2 separate regions of the Homo sapiens genome follow, and region 2 is linked to region 1. The links are contacts of gene promoters, found by promoter capture Hi-C in human tissues and cell types (Jung and others, 2019). All regions are on one chromosome and are shown on one strand. Each heading gives the region's core, a stretch centred on a gene start or on the middle of the fragment in contact. The rest is flanking DNA. Distances are from core to core; before and after follow the strand shown.

Region 1 (3,735 bases), core at 610-3,109:
AAACACTTGCCTTGTGATGTTTATTTACAACCTTTCAATGGCTTGCATGTTTTTGCCATAATATGGTTTGAGAAGGAAAAGGTTTTTTTTAAAGCTCATATTTTAAGAGTGCAAGAATTAAAGTAAAATCTTAGGCCTTTAATAGGTCCCTGGGAAAAATATCCAATAATTTTAAATGCCCCTAAACTCCTAAGTCCAGAAAAGATTTGAGCCAGATAAAGAATCCATGGGGCAAAATACTTGGAGTCACTCAAGGGACTATTCAATGATACTAAGGATGCTCCTGTGACTTGGACTGGTTTGGGATGCAGACTGGAAAGCCTGGATTTTGCTGGGTGCCAGCGGCCCTCAGGGAAGAGTGGAAGCCCAAGGGAGGAGATGCGTGCTACAATGTTCTGTAGCCACCAGCGCATCCCTCTAGCCCAGGCGCCCCTTTCTGAAGCAGTCAAGATCCGCACGAGAGACTGGATGTCTGCAGACTCCCTCACATCTCTCCCCCTCACCTACAGGGCTGCGCTTACGCCTAACTGGAAACCAGGTGACCCGCAAGAGGGAGGGAGAGGAGCAGAAGGGGCTCCCGAATACAGAAACCACGAGCCAGGAGCCGGTGGCCTAGGGCAGCCCAAGAAAGCCAGGATGGGAGTGGGAGGGAGAGGGCATCTGCCGACGCCGACGCCGGTTGTCCAGTTACCGAGCCAGGGAGCAGACCCGCCTCCGACCTCCCGCAGAGTCTCTGCCAGGGTACCAATTCCCCAGGGGCGGCCAGCCAGCTCAATGCAAGCCCGGGGTGATCACCACCTATCGTCCAAGCCAGGAGTCCCACTGCGTTCCAGTCACTGCTCCGGGGAGAGGGCGCTCAGCCCTGCCCCAGGTGTCCTTACCTGGTTCTCTAGTACCCAGCACCAGGTCAGGGACACCAGCGATGGGCTTCTACCAGAGACCGGCCCCAGCCCACGCGCGCCCAGGGTCGCTGGGCCACCCCTCCTCATCATTCCTTAGGCCATGAAGTGCCGGGGGATGGCGAGCTGGGTCCTTTGTTCCCTCACCAAGTGGAAAAGCAGTTTTTTAACAAGCCAAACCAAGAAAGAAACCCCGGTCGCAGTATCCCCGGCAGGGCGCACCCAGGATAGCTGGTTATCCAAGCGCATGTGTATCCCAGTTGTAAAAATAAATCAATAGTATTTGAAACTGCGGAGCCCCGGGGAAAGGAGGCGGAACATGGCCACTCATTTCACCCTCGGGAGCAGCGCTCTGCGCTCGCAGCCCTGGCTCCCCTGCACCCCCGAGTCCCGAGATGGGTTAGAGAAGCAGCGAGGGAAGGGGTGGGGGCCCCGCCGCGTCACCACCCACCTGCGGCCACCACCGTGCAGCCCCAGAGCAGCAGCAGCCGCGCGCAGCTCCCCATGGCCGGGAGGAGCCGGGAGCAGCCGGGCCGGGCGGGTGCCGGAGGGAGCCGAGACCTCTGGGCTGCGGGATGAAGCGCCGCCGTCCTCGGGAGGGAACGGGGCCCTGGTTTCTTCCTCCTCCTGGGGCGCCGGGCTCGGTCAGCGGTCGCCGGCAGCTGGGAGCCAGGGGCCGGGACCGCGCGGGGAGGTGGGGTGACCCTCGCGCACCGGCCTGGCGGGTCCCGGGCACCTGGGGGGCGGCGGGAGCCCCGGGACCATAGCCGGCCTGGCTGCGCTGCCCCGCGGAGCGGCCCTGCGGGCTCGTCTGCCGCTAGCCCGGGGCTCGGCGCCCGCAGCCGCCGCTGAACTTTGCGAGACCTTTCACTTCCCGGCCGCCGCCGCCGCCTCCTCCTGGGCGTCCTCCTCCGCTTTTCCCACCTCTTCTGGCTGCCCCGGCTCCGTCCCGTCCTTCTCCACGGGCAGTTCCATGCGATGCATTTTTATTGCACCGACGCCGCGGCGCTCCGGTGCCAGCCCTCCTCCCCTCGCACCTCCACCCCTTCCTCCCGCCCGCCCCCCGCGCTTGACAGCCCGGGCGGCGCAGCCCGCGGGATCGGATCGCCGCTGCCGCTGCCGCCCGGGGGGGGGGTCCCCCGCGCCCCGACCGACGCCCCCGACGCCCGGCTGCCCGCTGGTCCCGGTCGCCTCAGCCTGGCCCCCGGCTGCCCTGGCGCCCCTCCTGGCCCGCGCCCTGCATCTCCCTAGTGACCCCCCTGGTGCCCTGCAGCACCCACAGGCCTCCCCTGGGAAGCAATCTCCCACCTTCTCCCGGAACATTCCTAAGAGCAGTAGACTCCCTCTAGATCAGGTCAGGGCATGCCAAGGGGCTTAAAAAACCGCGAAACAGGCTAGCGCCTACTTCCCACATCCCCCAGCGAAACAAGCCCTCCCTCCTCCTCCAGCCACCCCCTCTCGGGGAGTCCCACGACCCGGGGACGGAACACCCCAACCCAGCCCCGCGTCACCCGCACTGAGAGCGCGCCAACTGCTAAGCGGCGTTCGCCGCTTCTCTGCTGCCTTTTGCGGGGGTAGGGGGATGTCTCGGCTAAACAATCGCTGCCTACATGATCCGAAGGTGTGCCCACTTTGGTGTAAGAGGTATTGCCTAACTCAAACTCAAGGTGCTGAAAGAAAAGGGTCACAGGATTAGCTAGTCGGCAGTGTAAGAACATCGTTGTCCAGAGGCAGGGCAAGGGCACGACAAAGGGAACTCTTCGGTCCTTCCAAGCGTTCTCCCTTTATAGAGTATGCCGTGCTGTGAAACAGTGTTAGGAACTAACTTATGGGGAGCAATTTAGTAGCAACCACACGCAGCTAATTGCAGATAGGATTGCTCAGGGCTGGTGCTTCTGGAAAGAGATTAAATAGCAGCCGAGTCTGAGATTTTTGCAAGTTCTGTGAAAATATAATTCTACTTACACATCCAGGGAAACTGGCAAAAGTTAAGTCGACAGCAATTTTGTATTGCAGTGCTCATTTTGTTCCTTTGAATATTTTCCAGAAAATTAACTACGTTCCAGATACCATTTAGTCGTTGTGTCTGTTACAGATGAGGATAATTCAGAGCTTTGGGATACATGTAGATATTATTTACAATGACCCAGCCAGGAACATATAAGAAGTTTATATCTCCCAGGGGGATCTGGGTTGAGGTCAGCATAATCCATTTGGGCGACATTAAAATTATTCTTCTGGCCAACAGAGGAAAGTAGCAGAAGGTGTGGACAGCAATTCATGTAGCATCACCTGCTTTAGAAAATAAACGCTTTGAGTTCCCAAATACTGGCAATGGTGGGGCTTTCTTCATATCTCCTAATGGAGCCATTGAAACACCTCTCCAATTAATCTTTTTACCAAATAAATGATAGGAAACTATAACAGCCAAAGGTTCTTAGCATAAATGTTAACTTAATAGCCAAGGCAAATTAAACAAAGGGGTGGATGCACATTTATTATTAACTTCTGAGTCTAGTATATTTAGGCAGAACTAATCCATTTCTGTTTTTTAATTAACAAATAAACTTGTATGTATTTATCATGTACAACATGATGTTTTGAAATATGTATACAGCGTGGAATGACTAAATCTAGCCAATGAACATATGCATTTTTGCATATTAACATGCATTTAAGAATACACTCACTGTCTTAGCATTTTTCAAGAGTACAATATATTGCTAAAAATATAGAATGCTTCACAAATTTGTATGCCATTCTCATGCAGAGGCCATGCTAATCTTCTCTGTATTGTTCCAATTTTAGCATATGTGCTGCCAAAGCAATCACAGAA
Region 2 (3,735 bases), core at 492-2,991, 47 kb after region 1:
TATGAATGCAGATTTATTATAATCCAGAATGAAATGATTAAGAACAGAATATCCTCTTTTCCCCACAAATGGACCACAAATATATCAAATTATCTATGAAAACATGATCTTCTTTGATCTCATACAAATTCCTATTATTTGTCATGGAGTAAGGCCTTACTCAGTATTTGCTCATGTATTATTTAATTAAAATGACTCATGAAACAAGTGTGTCATTATGCTGGCTTGCCTATTGTCCATATTCACATACTTGAGTGTATCCTTATTCTTGCCTGGAAAAGGCATATGCTGCCTTGGGCATCATTCCAGTTAATCTCTTCAAACGATTTATGAATGAGCATTCGTGAATGTAATTAAGTAGCAAACAGACTTTGAACAGCAGTAGGGAAACAATCTTGAATTCTTCACTCTGAAACTACTTCAAACGTTATGTCCAAATAAAAAGAGGATCTTCACTACCTATTTCATCCCGTCTGCTCAGGGAAGGCTAAATATCTGTCCTGTTCCTATTTGGATAGGTGAAGATACTTGGTTTAAAATCCACATTCTATACATTTCCTCTCCCCATCTCATCTCACTTTCATCTTCTTGCCCAGCAGGAGAGAGTTAACTCAGCCAGAAATGTGGGTAAATACTGGAAACTTACTCAGATGCAGAAGGGACTGTGGCTCAAGATGTTATAATGTCCAGAAAGCAGGGAATGTGTTGGCTTGAGTTAATGCCAGCTTCCTTGTTTACTGGTGAAGTGTGCTTAAAAGATAAGTCTTTGGAGTGTAAGTGTGTGCAACCTGAGAATGAAAGAGAGAGAGCAGAGAGGGAGGAGATGGAGAGGAGAGGGAGGAGAGAGGGAAAGAGGGAGAGAGGGAGGAGAGAGGGAAAGAGGGAGAGAGGGAGGAGAGAGGGAAAGAGGGAGAGAGGGAGGAGACGGGGAGAGAGGGAGGAGAGAGAGGGGGAGGGTGGAGAGAGGGAGGAGAGAGAGAAAGAGGGAGAGAAGGGTGAGGGAGGGAGAGAGGGATGAGGGAGGGAGAGAGGGAGGAGAGAGGGAAAGAGGGATAGATGCAGGAGAGAGAGAGGGAGAGAGGGAGGAGAGAGACAAGGAGAGAGGGAAAGAGGAAGAAACGGAGAGGGAGAGAGGGAGGAGGGAGAGAGGGAGAGAGGGAGGAGAGAGGGAGGAGAGAGGGTGGAGAGAGGGAGGAGAGAGAGAAAGAGGGAGAGAGGGATGAGAGCAGGAGAGAGAAACGAGAGAGGGAAAGATGGAGAGAGGGAGGAGAGGGAGAGAGGGCGGAGAGGGAGAGAGGGCGGAGAGGGAGGAGAGAAGGTGGAGAGAGGGAGGAGAGAGAGAGGGATGAGAGAGGGAGGGAAGAGAGATGGAGAGAGGGAGGGAGGAGAGAGGGAGGGAGGAGAAAGGGAGAGATGTGAGAGGGAGGAGAGAGGGAGAGAGGGAGAGAGAGATGAGGGAGGAGAGAGGGAGAGAGGGAGAGGTTCAGTGGCTCAGGCTTGTAATCCCAGCACTTTGGGAGGTTGAGGCAAGAGGATTCCTTAAGCCAAGGAGTTCAAGACCAGCCTAGGCAATGTAATGAGACCCTGTCTTAATAAAACATTTTAAAATGTGTGTGATGGGTGTAGTTCCAGCTACTTGGGAGACTGAGATGGGAGGATCACTTGCGCCCGGGAGCTTGAGGCTGCAGTAAGCTGTGATCACACCCCTGCTCTCTAGCCTGTGCGACAGAGTGGGACACTGTCTTAAAACAAAGGGCGGCGGTGAGGGGGGAGGAGGTTTGAGGAAAAGACCATATGATACATTATGGTCAACTTTTGCAAGATTCTGAAATTCTGCTGGATGATTTTGATTATAACAGAATGATTAATATTAATTGTGTATATAGCCCTGTTAGCGGTGGAGAATCCATATCCATCTGGGTCTGCAGCAACCTCAATTCTTGCCTCCTCAGAAGAAACAATTTGACTGAGGGGCAGAAGGAGAGACCAAGACAAGTTTTAGAGCAGGCGTGAAAGTTTATTCAAAAGCTTTAGAGCAGGAAGGAAAGGAAGGAAAGTACACTTGAAAGAGGGCCAAGCGGGCGATTTGAAAGACCAGCACGGTTTGAACTTTTGACTTGGGGTTTTATACCTTGGCAGGCTTCCGAGGTCTTGCGTTGCTTCTCCTGCTCATCCAACGCTGAGATCTGATCCGGAAGCTGCTGATCACCAGTTTCAGCTGTTTTCTATCTGGTACGAGACTGTCTTTCCCTAGTGCCAGCTGTGACCAATTATTACTGTAGAGAAACAGTTAACAACCGCCTGACCTCACAGGATGGCCTCCCGACACACCTGGTGTGTGAGTAGTGGGGGAGCCCTCTCCTTCCCTGCTCACACCTGACTATAGCACAAGATATTGTTTAGATTATTATTATTCTAATATTACCAATGCTAACTTTAAAAATGAATACATTTCCACCACCTCTTAAAGGAAAGATTCACTGGCTAATCTCCTCAGATAAATATATTCTTTTTTTTTTTTTTTTTTTTTTTTTGAGATGGAGTCTTGCTCTATCACCCAGGCTGGAGTGCAGTGGCACGATCATGGCTCACTGCAAACTCTGCCTCCTGGGTTCAAGCCATTCTCCTGCCTCAGCCTCCCCAGTAGCTGGGATTATAGGCATGCATCACCATGCCCAGCTAATTTTTGTATTTTTAGTAGAGATGGGGTTTCACCATGTTGGCCAGGCTGGTCTCAAACTCCTGACCTCGTTATCCGCCTGCCTCGGCCTCCCAAAGTGTTGGGATTACAGGTGTGAGCCACTGCACCTGGCCAGATGAATATATTCTTGAATGAACATTTACATGTTTAAATTAGTGTGTATGCAAGTGACTTCAGGGTCATGGTGACCATATTCTGTAAATCCATCGTATGGAACATAATTGTGAACGAATAGTTATGGGCATAAGCATTCATAAATGTTAAAGACCTAACGCTAACTGAGTTAAAAAATAATCTCTCTATTATCAAGGGCACACTTTCTAATGGCAAAATTTTTTAAAATGAAAAACCCGGGAAATTATAAAGAAAATTTAACCATCCCAAATCCCATAACCTAAACATAACAACTAATAACATTTTGGTGTTTATTTTTAGTCTGTTTTTCTAGACACATATATTCAAATGTCCATATTTTGACATTATTAATATTTATTTACATATTTTGATGTCTTATATTTTCCCATGTCATTAGAATCTTTGTAAATATTATTTTAAATTATGGCATTACTTTTTTTTTTTTTTTTTGAGGTGGAGTTTCGCTCTTGTTGCCCAGGCTGGAGTAAAATTGTGTGATCTAGGCTCACTGCAACCTCTGCCTCTCAGGTTCAAGAGATTCTCCTGCCTCAGCCTCCTGAGTAGCTGGGATTACAGGTGCCCACCACCATGCCCAGCTAATTTTTTTGTACTTTTAGTAGAGACAGGGTTTCATCATGTTGGCCAGGCTAGTCTTGAACTCCTGGCCACAGGTGATCCACTCACCTCAGCCTCCCAAAGTGCTGGGATTACAGGTGTGAGCCATGGTGCCCAGCCTGTATTAAATTTTATCATATGAAAATATTGTTGCCAATTGAAGTATTATTTAGCCACTTCACTAGTATTGACCATGAACGTCTTTATACATGTCCACAGTTTTTTTTTTTTTTTTTTTTTTTTTTTTATTTTTTATTTTTTATTTTTATTGATCATTCTTGGGT

The links. Contacts are between HindIII fragments. The study calls those that stand out against the background at their distance.
Region 2: a contact is called between a fragment that was not itself captured here and the fragment with the promoter of NTN4 in region 1, in 1 of the 25 tissues and cell types used here (H1 embryonic stem cells).

Annotation. Positions count from the first base shown.
Region 1 is chr12:95,788,905-95,792,639 of GRCh38, forward strand. It overlaps NTN4 (netrin 4), which reads right to left and starts at 1,860. Exons shown (of 10, transcript NM_021229.4): 1 at 1,351-1,860. The coding sequence starts at 1,405. It also overlaps the pseudogene RNU6-247P. The HindIII fragment of the contact is 9,266 bases long and covers 1-3,735 here.
Region 2 is chr12:95,836,141-95,839,875 of GRCh38, forward strand. All of the region lies in intron 1 of SNRPF-DT (SNRPF divergent transcript), which reads right to left. Among named protein-coding and RNA genes, the nearest start is that of SNRPF-DT, 21 kb to the right of the region's middle. RefSeq lists a silencer at 2,178-2,378. The HindIII fragment of the contact is 5,755 bases long and covers 1-3,735 here.